Regions from separate parts of the Homo sapiens genome. Here region 2 is linked to region 1. The links are contacts of gene promoters, found by promoter capture Hi-C in blood cells and fetal thymus (Javierre and others, 2016). All regions are on one chromosome and are shown on one strand. Each heading gives the region's core, a stretch centred on a gene start or on the middle of the fragment in contact. The rest is flanking DNA. Distances are from core to core; before and after follow the strand shown.

Region 1 (4,588 bases), core at 1,782-4,281:
GCTCTGGCAAATAGCCTCAGTCTTTCCCCCACTGTATCCCCACCCCCACTTGTTCTGCTCCGCCTTCCGCCACCCTCGCCCGGCCCTCCAGTCCGCCACGCAGCTTCAGTCGTCGCCGGTTACCATGGCAACGGCGGCAGCAGCGCGGGGAAAGGGGGAGGGACGGGGGCGGAGTGGGAGAAAGAGATGCTCAGAGACGAGAGATTCTGGCAGAGATAAAGGCACCAAGAAAGACAAAGTGATCGCTGTAGAGTGGAGTTTGCACACAACACAGGGCCTAGCACGCAGTAGGCTTTCAATAAATGTTCCTTAAATTACTGCGGCAGGAGTCTAAATATAGGCAATGAAAGATGGAAGACTCAGGCAGAGCTGGGGAGCTCAACGACCGCAAAGCCTGAGCACTCCCTACCCCATCCAGCATTTGGGGAAGCAGGAGCCATGTGCCCCCTGCAGGCTCCTCTTGGGCTACCCTCCGCTGGCTGCCCTGGATAGAGATGAACCACAACTCCCAACAGCGCCATGGGCAGCAACCCTCTAACATTGAGGGATCTGGTGCCTCGGGGCCTTATGGGAGTTGGAGTCCCCACCATACCGAGGCTGACAAGTTTTCCAGCCAAGGAATGTGGCAAGCCTGGGTCTCCACGCCTCTGTAAACCCCAAATGCATGATCTGCTCTGTAAGCCTCCTTCCTTCAGGGATGCTCAACCCTGGGCTCCATGGAAGAAGTAGGAGTCTGGAGTGGGTAATGAATAAGGCCACCCACCCACCCAGAATAGCTGCCTGCTGGCAAGCCCCTCACCCTCGCTCCCATTTGTGTGTTCACGTGTTGGAAGCAGAGCCCACACATTCCAGCGGGCTTTCTATTTACACCTGGAATGCAGGGGACCACAGCCATGGAGCCTAAGGCCAAGTGACAGGCCTAAGGGCAGGAGACAGCGGGAGCAGAGGAAACCAGGCCAGAGAAACTGAGGCATAAAAATCCACCGAAACTACAGGGGATGTGGGGAAGAGGCAGCCTGGGAGAAAGCCCGAAACCCACAGAATGAAGGACAAGAAAGTCGCCCTGGTGGAGAGAGGGTGGGGGCTCCAGATCTAAAGGTCCTCAGCCCCCAATCTCTTCCAACCATCCTCACACGTGCACAATGCATGTGTACACACATGTGTGAGTTTGTGGCAGGGAACATGTGTGTCCTCAGCTCCCTCCCATGAAAAGCTGCAGTTCCCACTAAATATAACCCCCTCCCCAGCCTGTGACTCACCCGGACCCCGCCTCCCCCGGCCCCCACTTCCTGTCCCACCCCCCAGCCCCCAGCTGCCTGCCACCCGCCCAAGCCTCCCTCCACACACCAGGCATCCAGCTCTCCAGTCCCAGAGTCTCCAAGGAGAGCCTAGGTATCTGCATCCCACCAGGAGCTCGCCTGTGCTCCATCCGAGATCTCCTGCCTTTGCCAGGCTCCAACCAGAGGGACACTCTTGCACAGATCCCCATCGCTGCCAGCCCTGCCCTCCTCCTACACCTTTTCACCCCAGTAACCTCAGTAACTTCGGTCATAAGCCCTCAGGGACCCTTAAATCCAGGTGTCCTCCCCCACCTTGATCCCAAGCGTCAGGGGTATCTGGAACAGTCCCCACATCTGCTCTTCTCCCTCTCTCTTGATCAGGGCTAGATACAGTGTGGGAGGAGATGGGGATATTGGGCACCTGCCTTTGGGCCACCCCCAAATTGTGCACCACCCACCCGGTCCCCCTCCTCAAATCCCCTCTCTCCCTAAGCCTCTCATCCTCCTCCTCAGGGGCTGGCAAGCTCGGCTGCTGCAATCTTCTGCCTCCTATGGGAGTACCCCCAAATCCTTGCCTCACCTGGTCCATTCCCTCAGGTGATCCCATGCCAGGGCCCCAGCCCTCTGACAACTTCCAACTACCTCCATTCTATATGACTGAACCCTAAATTAACAGTTCCCTCAAATTGAGAGAGCATCCCTAAATGCAGCCACCACGAGATGCTTGTTCTAGAGTCTGAAGGCCCACCCCTTCCCTGCCAGCTGACACCCCCAGATCAGTCAGGCACTCACAACCAATAACCTTTACCCCATGCCAGGAGCCCCCCAAAACTGGACAAGGCCCTTGGAAGCCAGCTTTTCCCTGGGGAGGAAAGAGGAACCCCCCAACATAGCCCACCTTCCCACATACACCAGCAGGACTCCCTTATGAGCCAGGCTTCTCCTTAAATAAGTCTCCCTCAAACAGCGCTGATGAACCCCCAAACCCGCCAGGCCCCCCGAACCATGGAATATCCTAAATTTTCCATATCCCTACAGGTACAAAGGGATCACTCCAGGGGGCACCTGTGGCCAAATCCTGCATTTTCTCAGATGTGAACCCCAAAACTAAATTAAGACCCCCAAATACATCTTACTTCTGATGCTGCCACTCCAGGGGCGCCAGTCCCAGATAAGGCCTACTAACCCCTCCCCACAAACTCATACCCTCCCCCCAGTTTATAGCCCCCCCATCATGCTTACCTTGGTTGTCACTATACAGAGACAGTCCATGTTGGGGGGCCTGGCCGCGGCGGCGGGTAAGGGGCTCTGACTTCATCGGAGTTTCGTTCCTCCCCTCCGTGGGTTCTCACCCCTCCCCCCTCCGCACCCCACTTTTGCAGGGGGGGCCAGGATGGGGGGAGGGGTGAGAGGGGAAGGAGGGGGTTGGAGAAGGGAAGGGGAGGGGAGCGTGGGAGGGAGGGGAAGGGGGCCCTAAAAGGGGCTCCCCAGTGGAGGGGAGGGGGCTTGGGGAGCACACCCCGATTCTCAGGAGGGGCGGGGGCACCGGGGGCTGGCAGCCCCGGAGTTCGGGGGCTGGGGCATGAGCTGGGGTGGGGGAGGGGAACTGGATTTCGGGGAGCCCCGGGGTAGGGGGGGGTCTTGCCAAACGGCCAGGGGCTAGGGGCCGTGGCGGGGGAGTGGGGTGGGGGGGTTGGAAACGGCAGCGGCCGAGGGAGCCGTGGAGCCGAAGAGGGAAGGGGAGAGAGGAGGAGAGAGGAAGCAGGGGGAGGGAGGGAGGGAGCTAGGAGCCAGAATGGGGGGGGTGCCTTGGCAGAGTTAACTCCTTCTGTGCTGGCAGGAACCCGGATAATGGGAAAGGAGATAGAAGCAGAAGCACAGAGGCCCCTGAGGCAAACATGGAGACCTGGCCAGCCACCAGCGATGACAGCAAAGACGATGAGGCTGGATTTCATTTCTTAGAGAAGGAAGCATCTATAGTTGGGCTGGGAGCACCCACGGTTATTTGAATACGGGAGGGAGGCCTCTCGGCAGGCGGTAGGGGGTCGGGTGTGAGGGAGGAGCTGAAGGAGGCAATCCCTGGGGGCCTAGTTCTCCCTCAGGTTTCTCAGGGGGAAACCTAAAAAGTTAAGCCCTAGACTCTTTAGTGCCTGAAACTGGGGCAGCCAAAGAAAACGAGGAAGAAAGGGAGAGTGGGTACAGGACCACAGAGAGTGCATTCTCGGTGCCCCAAGTCCCTGGGCCACTGACTCAGGCTTTTGTCAGCAGGGCCCCCAAGATTCCAGGTAATATTAGTGATATTTGGCTCACCCCTCCAGCCCTGCCTGCCCCTCAGGAAGTTAGGCGCTCGCCCCCACCTCCTTACCTGACTCTCTGAGAGGGAAGCCTCATAATAGTCCAGGATGTCTGTCACAGGAACAGAACTGAGTTACCTCCCCACCCCAGGCCTCTCCAGGCACATCACCCCTGTCATCACCGCTGCTGGCTGGCTGGCAAGGGAGGAGCCCTTTCAGCCAAGGCTGGTCCACACTCATGGAGGACACCATAGGCAGGACCCTGCATGGTGCTCCAGCTTGGACCAAATGATCTCTGGGCTCCCAAACAGCCCCCGAAGTTCAGTAATGGCCCTTGGAGGCCCAGGTCCCTCAGAAAACGGGCTACTCACCCAGCAAGGCCTGGAAGAGGTCGCTATGCAGCACTGTGAGGAGTGGGGGTGCCCACCGCAGCAGTGGGGGTGCCAGGAGCCAGAGGGCTGACCTGGGAGCTAGTGAGATGCAAGGAGAATTGGGACAGGGAAGATGCCAACACAGGAAGATGAACACACTGTCACTTCATCTCCCCAGACTGTGCCCTTCACCCCAGCCCCTACGGAAAGATTTGGGGAGAAGGATCTCCGAGCCCCAGCCCCCCACTTCGCTCCCAGACCTCCCCTCCACAAGGAGCCCTGTTTTTCACCTCTTGGTCTCTGGGACATCTCTCTCTTCTCTCACTTTAATCTCCCTAATCCTCCAGGATTGGAGTTGAGCTGCTTCTCCCCACTAAATTCCAGCTGTGAGTAAAGTAGGCCGTCTCTGAGCCGACCAGCTGTCCCATTCCCCCAGGTCCCAAGGCACCAGCACCGCCACCATCTTGCTCCACACACCCTGGCCCCCTCTTCCCATAGGCAGGCAGAACCTAGCCACGCTCTCCTGAGAAGCCAGCAAAGAGGGCCTCCTCACAGAGGGCTCCAGCAGCTCAAAAAGAAGCTGAGCCCAGCTCTCTCTCCTCCTGGGCCTCCTCTCACCCCAATGAGAATTGCAGAAAAAGGG
Region 2 (4,588 bases), core at 1,381-3,880, 390 kb after region 1:
AGCATCAAGAAAGGGATGAGGAGGCCGGGCATGGTGGGGCTCACACCTGTAATCTCAGCGCTTTGGGAGGCTGAGGCAAAAGGACTGCTTATGCCCAGGAGTTCAAGACCAGCTTGGGCAACATAAACAATAGAACAACCATTAAGATATTTGGGGCTGCTGGGCACAGTGGCTCAAGCTTATAATCCCAGCACTTTGGAAGGCCAAGGTGGGAGGATCTCTTGAGCTCAGGAGTTCAAGAACGATCTGGGCAACACAGTGAGACCCCACTTCCACGAAAAAAAAAGAGGCCAAGCGCGGTGGCTTATGCCCATAATCCCAGGACTTTGGCTGAGGTGGGCTGATCACCTGAAGTCAGGAGTTCAAGACCAGCCTGGCCAACATGGTAAAACCCCACCTCTACTAAAAATACAAAAATTAGCCGGGTGTGGTGCCACATGCCTGTACTCCAAGCTACACAGGAGGCTGAGGCAGGAGAATCACTTGAACCAGGAGGTGGAGGTTGCAGTGAGCTGAGACCGCGCCACTGCACTCCAGCTTGGGCAACAGAGTGAGACTTCATCTCAAAAAGAAAAAAAAGGTATTTGGGATGCATCTTTTTTTTTTTTTTTTTGAGACAGAGTTTCGCTCTTGGTGCTCAGGCTGGAGTGCAATGGCACAATCTCAGCTCACTGCAACCTCCACTTCCTGGGTTCAAGCGATTCTCCTGCCTCAGCCTCCCAAGTAGCTGGGATTATAGGCGCCCGCCACCACGCCCAGCTAATTTTTTGTATTTTTAGTAGAGATGGGGTTTCATCATGTTGGCCAGGCTGGTCTTGAACTCCTGACCTCAGGTGATCTGCCCCACTCGACCTCTCAAAGTGCTGGGATTTCAGGTGTGAGCCACTGCATCCAGCCTGGGATGTATCTTAAACCAAGGATACAAGAAACCAGAGGAAGGAACTAATTAAAATCAGAGGACGGCAGGGCATGGTGGCTCATGCCTGTAATCCCAGCACTTTGGGAAGCTGAGGCGGGTGGATCACCTGAAGTCAGAAATTCAAGACTAGCCTGGCCAACATGGTGAAACCATGTCTTTACAAAAATGCAAAAATTACCCGAGCATGATGGCAGGTGCTTGTAATCCCAGCTACTTGGGAGGCTGAGGTGGAAGAATTGCTTGAACCCAAGAGGCGGAGGTTGCAGTTAGCTGAGATCGCGCCACTGCACTCCAGCCTGGGCAACAGAGCAAGACTCCATCTCAAAACAACAACAACAACAACAACAAAAAAATCAGAGGGCACTGGATTTTAGATGTTGTTACCATAAATGGAAGGCAAATCGCCTGAAACTGGGGATGTTCCTGAGAGTTTGGCTGATCACAACAGTGATAAAAGGGGAACTGTTGCATTTTACATTTCCATAGGCTACATGGCTGGATATGGCTTAGTTGGGGAGGAAGGAACATGAACCAACCAGAGAAAAGCCTAGAATCCTGGGGAAAAGTGACATTTAGAAAGGTGTACTCCACAGCCCTTACCTCCACTTCATCCCCTTCTGTGATCTCCTTATTATAGTCAGCTGGAGGTGGTAGCCGGACATCCCCAAAAGGAATTTGTCTCTCACTCTGCCAGCTATAATAGAAACAATAATATGAAAAAGCTACTCTGACTGATATGGTTGCCCATTTCTTTACAAAAGGGTTATTGCCTCAGCTGGGCGAGTTCCACCTATCTGGATAATTAGAGGCTAAACCCCAGGCCCTGCTCCATAGTAGTGTCTTCCATCTCTTTCTAGACTCTAAATACTGGGTCAAATGCCCCCACCCTCACCAAATTCTCAGCCCTTTCCTCTCCTGGGATCCATATGAGTTCCCACCCAAACCCTCAGCTCTCCCAACCTATTACATGCCTCATAGGACTCAGCTGCCCCCTCTTCTCCACTCTCCTTCTAGGACCTAGTATGCTGGATTCTCTATTCCCAAGGTCTTACTTGTTTTCAAAGAAGATGGTGACAGAGTCTTCATGGACATCCTTCACAAAGCCCTAGAATGGATTTTAGAAAAAAGCAAAAAAAATAAAATGACCTTTTACTTCCACCTTAGCCATCAAGGGAATAAGACACCACAAAACCTTAAACTTGAGTTTTAGATAGGGACACAAGTGGTGTAATGAGACAGCCTGAAAGGCTGCACTGGGGAAAGAATATGGGCAGTCAAACAGAGAAAGGAAATGATATTGTCATGGAGAGGTGTATGTACCACCTGCATCAGAACAGCCTGGAAACCAATGATCTACTCAGGCTCCCACAGGGGCCTCCCTATCTGTCTGCCTCCTGTTGTGCTAAGCAGCCTGCCAGAGTTCAATTAAAATACCAACAACATTCAGCAAGGCTAAGAATATCCCATGAGACAGTGTGAGGCTGTCCTGGAACACCTAGAGGACATGAGGATCTGTCGAGAGAGAAGGGCCTACCTCCGCAATACAGCAAGAGATCTGAGCAGACTCGCTGCCCTGATGCATGGGTCCTAAGACAATAATCGGAACACTAGACAAGTTCAAAATTGTGATGAACACAATTTACAGAAGGAAAAATTAAGACTTAATTTAAAAACATCGGTTTTTTAATACTAGAATTGAATCTAGAATGACACTGATAATTTATAAAGGATAATAAAATTTATGGAAGACTCCAATCTTGATATTTTGACAAGAGCAAGAGGGATGACTGAACAGCTGATCCACCTCCTGTGGTCTGTGTCCTCACTAAGGAGGCCAAAGCCATGCATTCACCCCTATGCTCCCAATTTTTCTACCTTCTCCCTATTTTTCACATACAATTAGGGATTTCTAATTTTGAAAAAGGTCTAGCTTATGAATTTATTATTTTATCAACTGTGCTTTTGGTTTCATATCTAAGAAATCTTTGCCCAGGCCAGGCACAGTGGCTCACGCCTATAATCCCAGCACTTTGGGAGGACGAGGCAGGCAGATCACCTGAGGTCAGGAGTTCGAGACCAGCCTGCCAACATGGTGAAACCCCGTCTCTACTAAAAATACAAAAATTAGCCAGGTGTGGTGGTGCATGTCTGTAATCCCAGCTATTTGGGAGGCTGAGGAAAGAGAATCACTTGAACCTGAGAGTCAGAGGTTGCAGTGAGCCAAGATCATGCCATTGCACTCCAGCCTGGGCAACAAGAGCAAAACTCCATCTCAAAAAAAAAAAAAAGAAAAAGAAAAAGAAATCTTTGCCTAATCCAAGGCCACAAAGGTTTTCTCTTATGTCTTCTTCTTAAACTTTTAGTTTTTTGTTTTACATTTACATCTATAATCCTTTATTTTTAGACAGAGTCTCACTCTGTCACCCAGGCTGGAGTGTAATGGCGCAATCTTGGCCCACTGCAACCTCCACCCCCCGGGTTCAAGCAATTCTCCTGCCTCAGCCTCACGAGTAGCTGAGATTACAGGCAACCGCCACCACACCAGGCTAATTTTTTATATTTTTAGTAGAGACGGGGTTTCACCATCTTGGCCAGGTTGGTCTCGAACTCCTGACCTCAGGTGATCCATCTGCCTCAGCCTCCCAAAGCTGGAATTAAAGATGTGAGCCACTGTGCCCAGCCTATGATCCATTTTGAATTAAATTTTATATATAAGGTGAGGTATTGATCAATGTTTTTTAAATTTTTAAATTCTTATTTATTTTTTTGAGACAGAGTTTCGCTCTTGTTGCCCACGCTGGAGTGCAATGGTGCAACCTTGGCTCACCGCAACCTCCGCCTCCCAGGTTCAAGCAATTCTGCCTCAGCCTCCCAAGTAGCTGGGATTACAGGCATGGGCCACGACCCTGGCTAATTCTGTATTTTTAAGAGAGACAGGGTTTCTCCATGTTCGTCAGACTGGTCTCAAACTCCCGACCTCTGGTGATCCACCCGCCTCAGCCTCCCAAAGTGCTGGGATTACAGGTATGAACCATCGCACCAGGCCACTTTTTTTTATTTTTAATATATTTTTAAATTAAAATTTTTTTTTAATAGAGACAGGGTTTCGCTATGTTGCCCAGGCTGGTCTTGAACTCCTGGACTCAAGCAATGCACCCGCCTTAGCCTCCAAGAATGTTGGAATTACAGGTGTGACCACTGTGCCCAGCCCATTTTTTACCTAAAGATATCTTGTTCCAGCACTGTCTGTTGAAGACTATCCTTTCTGGCCAGGGGCGGTAGCACACGCCTGTAATCCCAACACTGGGAGGCCGAGGCTGGCAGATCAGCTGAGGCCATGAGTTCGAGACTAGTCTGGCCAATATGGCAAAATCCCATTGCTACTAAAAAAAAAAAAAAATAATAATAATAATAATATATAAATTAGCCAGGCGTGGTGGCACATGGCTGTAACCTCAGTTATTCAGGGTGGCTGAGGCATGAAAATCACTTGAAGCCAGGAGTTAGAGACTGCAGTCAGTCAAGATCATGCCATCGCACTGCAGCCTGGACAACAGGGCAAACTCTGCCTCAAAAAAAAAAAAAGAAGAAAAGAAGAAAAGAAAAGACAAGACTATCCTTTCTTAGCTGAATTGAACTGCCTTTTCATTTCTATCGAAAATCAGGAAG

The links. The method cuts DNA at HindIII sites, captures the fragments that hold promoters and counts their contacts. A CHiCAGO score of 5 or more calls a contact.
Region 2: a contact is called between a fragment that was not itself captured here and the fragment with the promoter of DLG4 in region 1, in 2 of 17 cell types (monocytes and naive CD4 T cells). The highest score is 6.4, in monocytes.

The regions. Positions count from the first base shown.
Region 1 is chr17:7,214,596-7,219,183 of GRCh38, forward strand. DLG4 (discs large MAGUK scaffold protein 4) reads right to left here and starts at 3,032. Exons shown (of 20, transcript NM_001321075.3): 1 at 2,523-3,032. The coding sequence starts at 2,552. It also overlaps a transcript of ACADVL not described here. RefSeq lists enhancers at 1-9, 384-1,362. The HindIII fragment of the contact is 10,481 bases long and covers 1-4,588 here.
Region 2 is chr17:7,604,126-7,608,713 of GRCh38, forward strand. FXR2 (FMR1 autosomal homolog 2) reads right to left here. Exons shown (of 17, transcript NM_004860.4): 2 at 1,972-2,024; 3 at 1,520-1,613. Among named protein-coding and RNA genes, the nearest start is that of FXR2, 8.5 kb to the right of the region's middle. The HindIII fragment of the contact is 4,908 bases long and covers 177-4,588 here.